Linked DNA regions of Homo sapiens: all the other regions are linked to region 3. Evidence: promoter capture Hi-C in human tissues and cell types (Jung and others, 2019). All regions are on one chromosome and are shown on one strand. The core of a region is centred on a gene start or on the middle of the fragment in contact, and the rest is flanking DNA. Distances in the headings are between cores, read along the strand shown. Region 1 has its middle 330 kb from the start of SMARCA2. Region 2 overlaps LOC102723803 (a long non-coding RNA gene). Region 3 holds the start of DOCK8 (dedicator of cytokinesis 8). Region 4 overlaps LOC105375951 (a long non-coding RNA gene).

The links. Contacts are between HindIII fragments. The study calls those that stand out against the background at their distance.
Region 1: a contact is called between a fragment that was not itself captured here and the fragment with the promoter of DOCK8 in region 3, in 1 of the 25 tissues and cell types used here (dorsolateral prefrontal cortex).
Region 2: a contact is called between a fragment that was not itself captured here and the fragment with the promoter of DOCK8 in region 3, in 1 of the 25 tissues and cell types used here (dorsolateral prefrontal cortex).
Region 4: a contact is called between a fragment that was not itself captured here and the fragment with the promoter of DOCK8 in region 3, in 1 of the 25 tissues and cell types used here (dorsolateral prefrontal cortex).

The regions. Positions count from the first base shown.
Region 1 is chr9:1,680,145-1,683,029 of GRCh38, reverse strand. No RefSeq gene overlaps it. Among named protein-coding and RNA genes, the nearest start is that of SMARCA2, 330 kb to the left of the region's middle. The HindIII fragment of the contact is 3,787 bases long and covers 1-2,885 here.
Region 2 is chr9:1,309,796-1,312,495 of GRCh38, reverse strand. It overlaps LOC102723803 (a long non-coding RNA gene), which reads right to left. Exons shown (of 7, transcript XR_929415.3): 3 at 1,464-1,556. Among named protein-coding and RNA genes, the nearest start is that of DMRT2, 260 kb to the right of the region's middle. The HindIII fragment of the contact is 5,282 bases long and covers 1-2,700 here.
Region 3 is chr9:213,244-216,114 of GRCh38, reverse strand. DOCK8 (dedicator of cytokinesis 8) reads right to left here and starts at 1,250. Exons shown (of 48, transcript NM_203447.4): 1 at 1,086-1,250. The coding sequence starts at 1,138. DOCK8-AS1 (DOCK8 antisense RNA 1) reads left to right here and starts at 365. Exons shown (of 1, transcript NR_160804.1): 1 at 365-2,658. RefSeq lists silencers at 776-915, 1,086-1,135, 1,186-1,235, 1,246-1,495. The HindIII fragment of the contact is 11,669 bases long and covers 1-2,871 here.
Region 4 is chr9:1,702,607-1,705,604 of GRCh38, reverse strand. The region is part of intron 1 of LOC105375951 (a long non-coding RNA gene); the gene reads right to left. Among named protein-coding and RNA genes, the nearest start is that of SMARCA2, 310 kb to the left of the region's middle. The HindIII fragment of the contact is 5,902 bases long and covers 1-2,998 here.

The DNA of each region.
Region 1 (2,885 bases), core at 334-2,833, 1.5 Mb before region 3:
GAAGAGCAACAGAAACGGTAAAATGTGGGTAAATATAAATCCTGACTGTACAGAATAATGAGTATTATCTTGTGAAATTTAAAATAGTTATAACATTAAAATACATGACAATGATAACACAAAAGGCAGAAGGCTATAAATAGTAAATGTTAAATAACAAAAAGAAGTGGTAATAATTTGTTTTAGACTATAGTCGGTCAGTGGTAAATGTAATCTCTATTGTAACCTTCCCCCAAAATTGGAAAAGAATATATAACTACCCATCTTGAAGGGAGAAATTAAATGCTTAAAATATTTGATTATTCTAAAAGAAATCAACAAAAGACAATAACATAAAGCAGGAGGATCAAAAAGAAAAAAATCGTAAGATTGTAGAGAAAAATCTTAAATATGTCTGAAATTACCTTTAAATTAACTAATCTATGTAAAATATAAATGTTATCACCTGGATAAAATAATGAAACCCAGTTATATGATGCTTACTAGAAATGTCTTGATTGTAAATACACAGAAAAATTCAAAATAAAAGCATATATCATGCAAACTCTAGCAAGAGAAAAAGAAAGCCAATGTAACTGCACTAATATTTCACAATTATTCTCTAAGGCAAGAATAAATATAGAACTAAGGCAAGAATAACAATAGAGAGTAGCATGTCATAATAATATGGAAGTCAGTCTACCAGGTAGATATACGATTCTTAATCAGTATGCACCCAAAACATAGCTTCAAACATGAATAAGGCCTTCTGGATCATGATGAAAACACTGATTCCAAAAAGAAGCTTTATCTTCCAAAACCATCTCATTCCATGTTTCCCATTAAGAAAATAACAAATTCTGTTATGGCTTAAATAACCGTTCGTTGAATTTTTTGGCACTTGCTGCTGGAAATATTCCTGCTACTCACCTAGTCACCAAGCTTGAAAGCGAAAATCATTATATTTTTATCTTTTTCAATTCATCTACCACAGGAATTATTATTTCACCTTTTTCCCTCAACCACATCTATTTCTTTTTCCAACAGTTTCTCCCTATTTCGAATGCTCCCTATTCGAATGCTCCCTATTTCGAATCTGTATTGTGTGTACTACATGGCAATAACTAAACTTACTTCCCTGTTTTCTATATGGTCAGGCATGAGGTAACCCCAATTTAACTTTTGCCAGCATCATGGCCCACCATTCCCCCTTTAGTTTATTTGCTGTCTTGTAAACATACCATTCTATGTCTGGCTTATGTCCCTTTGTACCTGGGGTTTTTCTAGCCTGGAGTGATCTTTGTACATCCCATCCTTCTTAATTGGCAAACTTCCTGCCTGTTATCCAGATAAATGTTATATTATCTTTCAAATCATGACATGATCCGCTCACTCCAGCACCCAGAATTAACTACTCTGTCCTTAAAAGTTCCGTATTTCTGACAGCTATTGTGTTGTAGTCATTTTCATGTATGTTTACATTCCTCATGCCACTGCTGACCCTCCTGAATTAGACTCTGAATTCTACGGAAGCAGGACCATAGCTTATTTATTCCTGAATCCCCAAGCTCTAGAACAGTAAATGGCACATAATGGTAGGTGAATGTTTGCAGGTGAATAAAAGAATTCTGCAAAGTGACGCAGACCAGAATCTGCTGAAGTGGAAAGAGATCTTGCATACCACCTATGATCTGTCCATTTTATCAATAAAGAACCAGGAACCCAAGGAAGATAAATGATTTGGCTAAAGTTACACATTGGTATGGTGGTAGGATAAAGATGAGCCCTCAGGTCCTTGACTTCCAGTCCACGTGGCCACCCGCTATGCCAGATGCTACTAAGCCTCTTTCTGAGCTGCTTTAATATTATTACTACAACATAACTCAGCTTTATTTTCCACAATGCCATTTACCCCTGCAGCATGCCAAAATGCTTTACCAGTGAAAGAGTACAATTTCACAGTTAAAAAAGATGAGAGAGAAATTAAATACTGTAGGTGCAGACTGAAAAACATTAAACCAAATTCAATTTGAAGGGAGGGTTTTAGATTCATTACCCACAGACACACACATACCCCAAAGCTCTGTGCACCATGGCCACATGTATTGTTCTTAGACAGGATCATGTTATCTCTATCTTAAGGGAACGAAAATTGGGGACCATGTACAGCGTGGTCAAGTGCCAAGTCTGGGGCAGAAATGGCCCCTCTATCATACACCATGGGGCCCATCAAAATCATGATCTAATTTCCATGTCCCTCCTTCTTCTTAATGGCTGATAACTTAGGTTGAAAAATGGATTTCTCTTTCAGCTGCTTCCCATGCATATGCTGGTGAACAGAATTCATGCTGCAGCCCACCAGAGTACCCCAGGGCCCCCTGCTGTGGACAAATGGGTATCTAGACACACTCAGTTTCAGGTTGTGTGATTGCAGGCAACTAAATCCCCAGATGAGGGTTTTTTAAACAAGTTGGTGATTTTCAGATGAAGGATACCGGCCACAGAAGTTTAAAGTGTTCCTGTGCAACTTGGGCTGCCAGTGAAATACCAATTTCTCCTTTTTTTAGAACAATTATTTCTTTTATTTTTCCCCAGACAAACCCTCAGACATTCTTCTCCTCCCTTCTGAGGCTTCTCTTTGAAAGAGCTAGTGCAGTAGATCATGCCGGGTTACTCCGCAGATAGAACTGTTGAACACAGGTGCATTCTGGGGCTTCAGTGTCTGGCTTAGTCTCTGATTTGTTGCAGAAAAAATACTCACTGTAGTTTCCCAATTCCCAAATGTGGATACTTTGAAGATGGATATGATGTATTAATTTTGTGTTTTCACAGATTTATGCTCTGCAGACGTAACTACATTTTTCCAAGAAATGAAGCAAGAACTGACTTCAGAGTCTGTATGTCAG
Region 2 (2,700 bases), core at 40-2,539, 1.1 Mb before region 3:
GAGAATCAGTAGGACCTTCACACTTGTCCACACTTTTTCCACTCTTGTCACAATCACTTAGCATTTTAATCCTGCTGAATTTCAGGATGTTAGCTAGCAATATAGTGCAATCCCCTATCATTGGCAGATGGAATCAGGATGTCTTATATGTACTCTCCTAAATCACTAACAGACACGTTAAGTAATACCATGTCACAGGGCCAACTCTTTCAGAACTCCAGTCAATAAAGCAACATTTACCCACTCATGTGGGGCACCTACCATCTAAATCAGGGCACTGTCAATCTTAGCTGCACCCTACAAGTTTTTTTAAATGCCAGTGCCTGGCCTCTACTCCAAAAAAAAAAAAATCTGATATAATTGGTCTGGAGTGGGGCCACCCAAAGACTGGAATATTCAGCCAGGGTTGAGACTACTAATCAATATCTTTGGCACATTGTGCTATTGTTTAGTATGTTTTAGCAGAGTAGTTTTCAAACATCACTGTACATCCAACCTACCTGGGGATCTTTTTTAAATGCAGACTCTGATTCAGTGGGTCTTGGATGGGACCTGAGATTCTGCACTTCTAACAATCTTCCATTTGATGCTGATGCCACAAACCACATTCTCGTCTCATTTATAAAGCAGTAGAGCAGAGATCCTTACTCAAGTTGAGCATGCAGTTTACTGTTGAATAGCTTATTCTAAGCTACATGAAGTATGAACATACTAGATCAAGTATCTTTTAAGCCTAACTTTCACATCTTATTAGAAATAATTTCGGAAATTCCCTCAGCCTTTGCCTAGATATGCAAGTTTTCTCATAGTTCACTCTGTCCCTGTGTTCTTTGGTCCATGACATAGTTCTGGGTTTGTGAAATGAGTGAGCCTATGAAGCTGGGTTTCCAATCATTATCTTGGAATCCCCTCTAATGGCTACCATTATCTCTCTGTCCTGTCAGATAGAGTCTAGCCAAGAAGCCTCCCTCTCTGAGGTTTACTGGGTTCTGGATGGAAAAGGATTCCAACCAGCATCAGTGCCCTTGCACACACATACACTGACACAGACCTGAGTCTGTGTCACACACACATTTCACACACATATGCTTGCTTTGTCAAGCCCCTGGCCTCCCTACAATCTTAAGGTTTCAGAAAAATGAAAAGTAGCTGCTGTCCTCTTCACAAGAAGACAGGTATCCCAGTTATGAAAGAATACTATAGAAGACCCTCTGCCTGTGCCCTGCTTGTTTTGAATTCTATCATAGATGCTCCTTACATATACGCCTTATGTCCTCCTCCCTGGTGTTGGAGCTGTTCTCAACAATGCCTACCATCATGTGGCACCAGGGATGTATGACAGGACATTTGCAGCTAGTATACTCGAGGGTGTCTTGACATGTCTATCAACAATGTTATGAGATCCTCACTGGGGGAACCCAAACATCTTTGAGGAAGGCAGGAATACCCCCTAAGTCGCTTACCAGTTGGGTGATCTTGACATGTCATTTGACTGCTTAGAACTTCATTTTCTTTATCTGGAAAATGGTGCCAATAGTACCTGCCACCCAGGGTTCCTGTAAAAATTAAAGAAGATGCACATGAAGTACATGCACAATACCTAGTACTTAATACTGACTCAGTCAAGGTTAGCAACTTACATTAGAAGTCTCAGTGAGGGCTGGGCGCAGTGGCTCACGCCTGTAATCCCAGAATTTTGGGAGGCTGAGAGGGGCAGATCACTTGAGGTGAGGAGTTCAAGACCAGCCTGGCCAATATGGTGAAACCCCATCTCCACTAAAAATTAGCCAGAAGTGGTGGCACATGCCTGTGGGCCCAGCCACTTGGGAGGCTGAGGCAGGAGAATCACTTGAACCCGGAAGGTGGAGGTCACAGTGAGCCAAGATGGTGCCACTGCACTCAAGCCTGGGCAACAAAGTGAGAAGAAGAAGAAAGAAGAAGAAAAAAGAAAGAAGAAGAAGTGGCCTCAGTGAGCCATATCTGGAATATTTCAAGTCTTATTTTCATTTTCCACAAATTCCGCTAGAGGCCTAAGGGGTGAGAGTAGACATGAGTTCTACTCCTGGATTATATCTCATATTCATACAGCTCTGAAACACACAGTACACCCTGTCTTTGGATTTTCCCATACACATCCCACTACCCCACCCAGTAAAAAAGAATAAGAAAGATACATTTTCCTCAGAAAAAAAAATACATGCCTGTTGATCTTTCAATTCATGCTAACCCAAGTCAGGCCTTAAATGTGGGAATAATCATTCTGGCAGATGTCACTCTCCTTTAGGGTTTTCTTTTTCTTTCTAAGCCTGAAGCGTTGGCTGCTGCAGGAAGCCAAGGAGAGAATAAGGTAGGCTGTTCCTGAGGGGCAGAAAGAGACTGGACCTTCCTTCTTTCCCAGGGATCATGATGGGAGAAACCAGAGAGTGTGCAGTAGAAAAGCAGATTAGACACATGAAAGACAGAAGCCTGTGCTTCCACTCAACGTGGGAGGACTCTAGGTGAGTCTGCAGAGGGTAGTGAAATTCACAGCCAAGCCCTGGCCTGCTTTCATTTGATGCTGTTAGTTAATCAAGCACATCAGTTACCAGGCCAAAAAACTCCAAGCCCCTCTATCCCAACCCCTGAAAAAGATCCAGGTGCATCTGACTTGAACTGGGTAGCCTCAAGGCTCTCCAGACCATCTGCAGCCACATGTCTCTT
Region 3 (2,871 bases), core at 1-2,500:
GGAAATAAAATCGTCAATAAAGCTCGATATGCCCTCTAGAAGACCTTATCGCCTTGTTTTTCTAGGCTTTTAATTCCTTGTTCAAACCTCTTCACACACTAACAGCACAAAGATGAACCTACGGTGGAATCCACCTTTCACAGGCTCAGCTAAGTGAAGATTAACAAATCGGACAGCCCTGTGGGCAATAGAATAAGTTGACACTTTAGAATGAGTTTCCTATTATCTTTTAACTAGACAGTCTAGCTTTCTCAGGGCAAGACAAAAATGTCCCAATTACTTGTCAGCAGTTTTTAGTGGAGGAAAAACTGCAGTTAAAGCACCTTTACTGAGAACTTTGAGCAGTAAATGTGCTTACATATTTAGTTTGTGCAACTTTGATTAGGAATTGGATGGTGAGTTGGGATCCCCCAGTCCTTAGCTTTTTGCTGGAGTTCTGTAAATCTCAAAATGTCAGCCACAGGCCATTTCTTTTGGTTTATTTAAGTGTAGATTTTTTAAAAAATCACTTTTTCCACTTCATGGCTCCTTTGGACCAGGGTATAAAAATAGCGATGCCACCAGGAGCCAAGCTCTTTCTGGAATAATGAAGCAGGCGAGGACGGAGCCTTGCTCAGGACGACAGAAGGCTTGCAGCCTGCCTCAAACGCAACTCTAATTTCAGCCACTTCACTTCTTCCCCCCGCGCTCAGACTTGCCTCAAAGGAAGGAGCCGTTTATGAGACACTCCGTGGCGCGCCCAACACGGTTACCCAGGCGCCTATCACCCTTCTGGGACCCGGCCACCTGTAAGAACCTGGAGGGCGGAGCGGGCGAGGTTGTTCGGGGAAGGGATCCCCGGCGGCTGAGGACATCCAGGAGCACCGAGATTCTTGGGGAGGACCTCGCCGGGCCCAGCGCAGGAGCCGCCGCGCGTCCAGCGGCTCCACCGCCGCAGCCTCGGGAACCGGGCGCCCCAGGTCTCAGGCGCGCCCCGCCGCGGACGCGAATGGACTCGTCCGGCCTCGGCCCCTGCAGCGAAGCTCCGCTTCACACCAGCGCTGGGCTGTCCGGCCGCAACCTGCGCGCCGCGGGGGGCGTCTTACCTGTTGATCTTGAGCGCGAACGCGCGGCGCTCTGCGCTCGGCAGAGTGGCCATGGCCCGCCGGCGGTTCGGTGGCTTCTAGGGTCGCGGGGTGCGGAAAGCGGGGGCCTGGCGCGCCGCAGAGTAGCCGCGGAACATGCCCAGCCAAGCGCAAACCTCGTCTGTCGGTCGGCGCTGGAAACTTCCGCATTTCCACCTTCTAAGCCGAAATCACCCCGGGGGAGGGTCCGAGCTCGGAGCAGCGACGGCCGGCTCCGCCACCCGGCCTGGCGCGCAGGCAGCGGCGGGCGAGGAGGGCGTGGGCCCAGCGCGGAACTGGCCTCCCGATACTGGGGCAGACGGCGCGCTCTGCCCGGGGCCGCCGACCTCCGGCCGAAGGGAGCGCGGGCGGACGACAGGCGACCACTGCGCGCAGGCCGGAAGCTCCATCTGCCCGAAGCTGCGAGGCTGCCAGGGAATGTAGGCAAGTCGGGGGAGCCCCACAAAGCTGGCGAGGTCGGGAATCACCCCAGGGATTCGTAAGGCTAGGTGTTATTAAGGGTTGACACCATTCTCGAAGAAGGCAGCCAAAAAAAAAGACAAAAAAGTTAGTGGAATCTATCAGGATTCAAATCAACTTTTGCAAGCAATATGCCCATCATCCTTCCTGAGACACTAAATAAATATAATGGATTCATCCAAGGAATAAACATTATGAGTTCTCAAAAAATGTTTTCGTCACAACCTGGCGTGAATGCTTTTCTCCGGAGAAACACTGAAGGCGGCGTTCTTGCGATTCAAGGGTACGCTGCGTCCAGGTTTATTTCAGTTTCAGACTGAGGTCTGCTAAGAAGCCCGGCCTCAAACTCAAGATAAAAACAGAAAAGTCCCAGTGTTGACGGGAGTGGAGGAGCCCGTGTTCGCTTCAAGGTGCCGGCGTGCTGCTCTAACCTGTGCTATATATACTCGAGCACTCTCCATATAATGCCTCCATTTACCAACTTGCTCTTAAAAAATACCAAAGCAGGCCGGGCGCGGTGGCTCACGCCTGTGATCCCAGCACTTTGGGAGGCCGAGGCGGGCGCATCACGAGGTCAGGAGATCGAGACCATCCTGGCCAACGTGGTGAAACCCCGTCTCTACTAAAATACAAAAAATTAGCCGGGCGTGGTGGCGCACGCCTTAGTCCCAGCTACTTGGGAGGCTGAGGCAGGGGAATCACTTGAACCCGGGAGGCGGAGCTTGCAGTGAACCGAGATCTGCCACTGCACTCCAGCCTGGCGACAGAGCAAGTCTCCGTCTAAAAGAAAAAAAAAAAAACAACCAAAGCGAAGTATTTTTGGTTCAAACCTGCACTATTTAATATGATAGCCACTAGCCACATGTGGCTATTGACCACTCGGCATTATGGTTAGTCTGAATTGCCCACTGCTGGATGTGTAAAATGTACACTGGAATTTAAAGACAGCGCAGAAAACATCGTGTAAAATGTCTTGTTAATGATTTTCATGTTGATTGCATGTTAAATGATACTTTGGATATAAAAAATATATTATTAAAGTTAATTTCACCTGTTTGTTTTCCCCTTTTAAAAATGTGGTTTGCATTTTTAAAAATGTAAAATTACACATGTGGCTCACATTTGTGAGCCTCATTATATTCCTATTGGACAGTGCCAGTCCAATACAACCTAATTTGTCACCTAATACTAAAATCCACCTAAGGACTATATTCAGTCTCTTCCTGATACAGCCTTCCTTCCTGGTTTCAGCTGTGTCAGGTAGTTTAGTAACTTTTCAGTACTGGTT
Region 4 (2,998 bases), core at 111-2,610, 1.5 Mb before region 3:
CTACTCTCTACTATTCCTTCATCGGGGGCTCATGTAAGCCTCTTAGGACCCCATCTGTTTTCACATTTTGGTTTAGGTCAGTGTGAAGTCGTCCAGATGCTGTGACTCCTGGTTTACCTTTCTGTGTAGACTAAATTTATGCTGTCCAAATCAGCTATTGAAATTGAAATTAATTAAAATTAAATACATTTTAAAATTCACTTCCTTGGTCATATCAATCACATTTGAAGTGCTCAGTATCTACATGTAGTTAGTGACTAATGGCTACAATATTGAATAGAGCAGATATACAACATTTTCATCCTCACAGGATGTTCTGTTGGACAGTGTAAGAATGACAAATGATTAATTTATGGACCATTTTACAGTTGTATATGTAAATCTCATTTAGTTCCCTTTAAAATGTATTTTTTTTTTTTTTTTTTTTTTTGAGAAGGTGTCTCTGTCGCCCAGACTGGAGTGCGGTGGCGCGATCTCCGCTCACTGCAAGCTCCGCCTCCCGGGTTCACGCCATTCTCCTGCCTCAGCCTCCCGAGTAGCTGGGACTACAGACGCCCGCCACCACGCCCGGCTAATTTTTTGTATTTTTAGTAGAGATGGGGTTTCACCGTGTTAGCCAGGATGGTCTCGATCTCCTGACCTTGTGATCCTACCACCTCGGCCTCCCAAAGTGCTGGGATTACAGGCGTGGCCCACCGCGCCCGGCCTTACAATAAAACTTTTATATGAAACAACTGATAATGCTGTTTTACAGATAGGAACTGAAACCCAGAGAGGCAAAAGTGAGACAGAACTCAAACAAACATCTTTTAATTCCAAATTCCCACTCCATCATCCTCCCTTCTAATATAATCTCCCCAACTCTGATGCTGCTTAGGGAGGCCACTGATCCTCACCGCCATTTGAGCATTTAGAGGAACCTCAGGAAAGGTTGCCACATTTGATCAAGCAACAAACAGCGACTATCTTCTGTCTGCCTGGCAGTGTAGTACAGGGACCATGAGGGAGAGAGTGCCACCCAAGGTCCTTGTACCCCAGGAGCTTGCAATTTCATTGAGAGCACAAGTTTTGGGAATAAAAAATAGATAAGCAGAACTGTTTAAATCCAGACTTAAACATGATATACTATTAAATATTTAAAAATAGATAAAATAAGCAAAAGTATATGCTTTTGATAGGTGTCAAGACATGGAGAGATGGGCTGAAAATTATTATTTTTCAGTAATTAATAGTTGCCTTTTTAAACTAAGTATGTGCATTACTTTGATTAGAAGAGAAATTATATAAAAGAAGAAAATCATTGGGGCTTTTATGACTTTATGACATTAAACATTAATCTTTCCCTCTAGAGATCAAATAATTCCAGTTCTAAAACTAACCTTTCCAAATTAGTCATTTTCCAATTTTTATTCTATAATGTGATTGATTTTCCCTTGTGTATTTCCCAAGAAAGTCTCTGCCCAGTGAAAATGCTTCCCTCCAGGACCCTCAGCTATGTATGACCTGATATATTGCATCTCTTTTATTAACATTTAAATCTTCACCACAACTTTTCTTGATATTTACCATTAATGTCTAATTGAAATGCATAAACTCAGGACTATACATAGCACGAAGTAGGCACTTGAACATTATTTGTTAAATGAACATGTAAGTATGTACTCAAACTACAATGCACTTAGGCAATTTGGAGGTATTTTGGTGAATAACTAAGATAATTAACATAACCCAGAAAAGAAAAGGTTTTTTTAAAAAAAGCTGATGGAAATGTGTAAGAGACCTTGTCTTGCAATATGGTTGAGAAAAACAAGTTTTGTAAATAAAAAATAGATAATCAAAACCAGTTTTAATGCATACTTGAGAATGATACAAGGGAGCCTATGGATTATTTGCCCTCTCGCATGTTTATTTCTCCCTTCTGTGCTTCTTTCTTTAGTCTAACTCTCTGATTTTACAAATAGTGAAGTAACCTTCCCCAGATACCTTTTCCCCTAAGGTAAGATTTTTCTCCTTATATCAGACTGTTTTCCATCACAGTGTGAGGCCATGTGTTACTTTCACTGGGAGAAGCATCAAATAGCTAATCCCTGATTTTAAGGGGCTTACAATGTAGTTGAAGTGACTGGACATGAAAACATTAAATAACAGTACTAGAAGTGCTAAATAGCATCTGCAAGTAGTAGAGTAGCTGCTGGCTCTTTCAAATTCACAATCTTTTGCTTAACAAACAATATCTAAGGTATGTGTCTGTGTGTGTGTGTGTGTGTCTGTGTGTATGTATGTCTCCTATCACGTCAACATCAAGAAGAGGCCTTCCCTTCTTTAACTCAGTCTCCAAATTTCAACTTTTATTATGTCATCAGTCAAAATCTCTACTTTCTTCACCTAAAGGTGAAGAAAGTCAAGATATGGTCAAATGGTCTTTTCCCACTAAGAGGAGAAGTGCAGTGGCCCCAGTCCTTGAATACACATGATGTAATCCTGTTCAAAGGTGAATCTGCCCTGTCTTTTAACAGGCTTGAGATTTTTTTTTCTCCAGGAACCTCTATCACAGATTTTCCCCATCTTCTCACAGGACTACGTGGAATATCAAACCAGGTTGGTCAAAATGCTTACTTCCAACAAAAAGGTACAGACAGCTTAAATTATGGAAGGCAAGAACTGGCATAACCACATTTCTAGGAGTTTCTTTGCTATGGTGATCCTGAGAAAAGAATTTTTCTTAATAATTGGCATTCTCAAATACCTTTGATTCCAAATTATTGTTCAGCCTCAGAAACTCCATTTGCCTGATGTCAAGTCTCTGTGATTTAAGCCTGTAAACTCCCTGGAATTCAGAGCTAAGGTGGTTGCTTTTCAATCTTTCGACCTGCCTGTATGTCCTGGCACGTATGTGTTAGTAATGATGAACCAACAGTGTTTCTCCGCATCTCTGTAATCCTTCAGTGTAATGGAAAAGCCAATCTGAGCTCTGTACTTTAAATCATATTCTGAATAT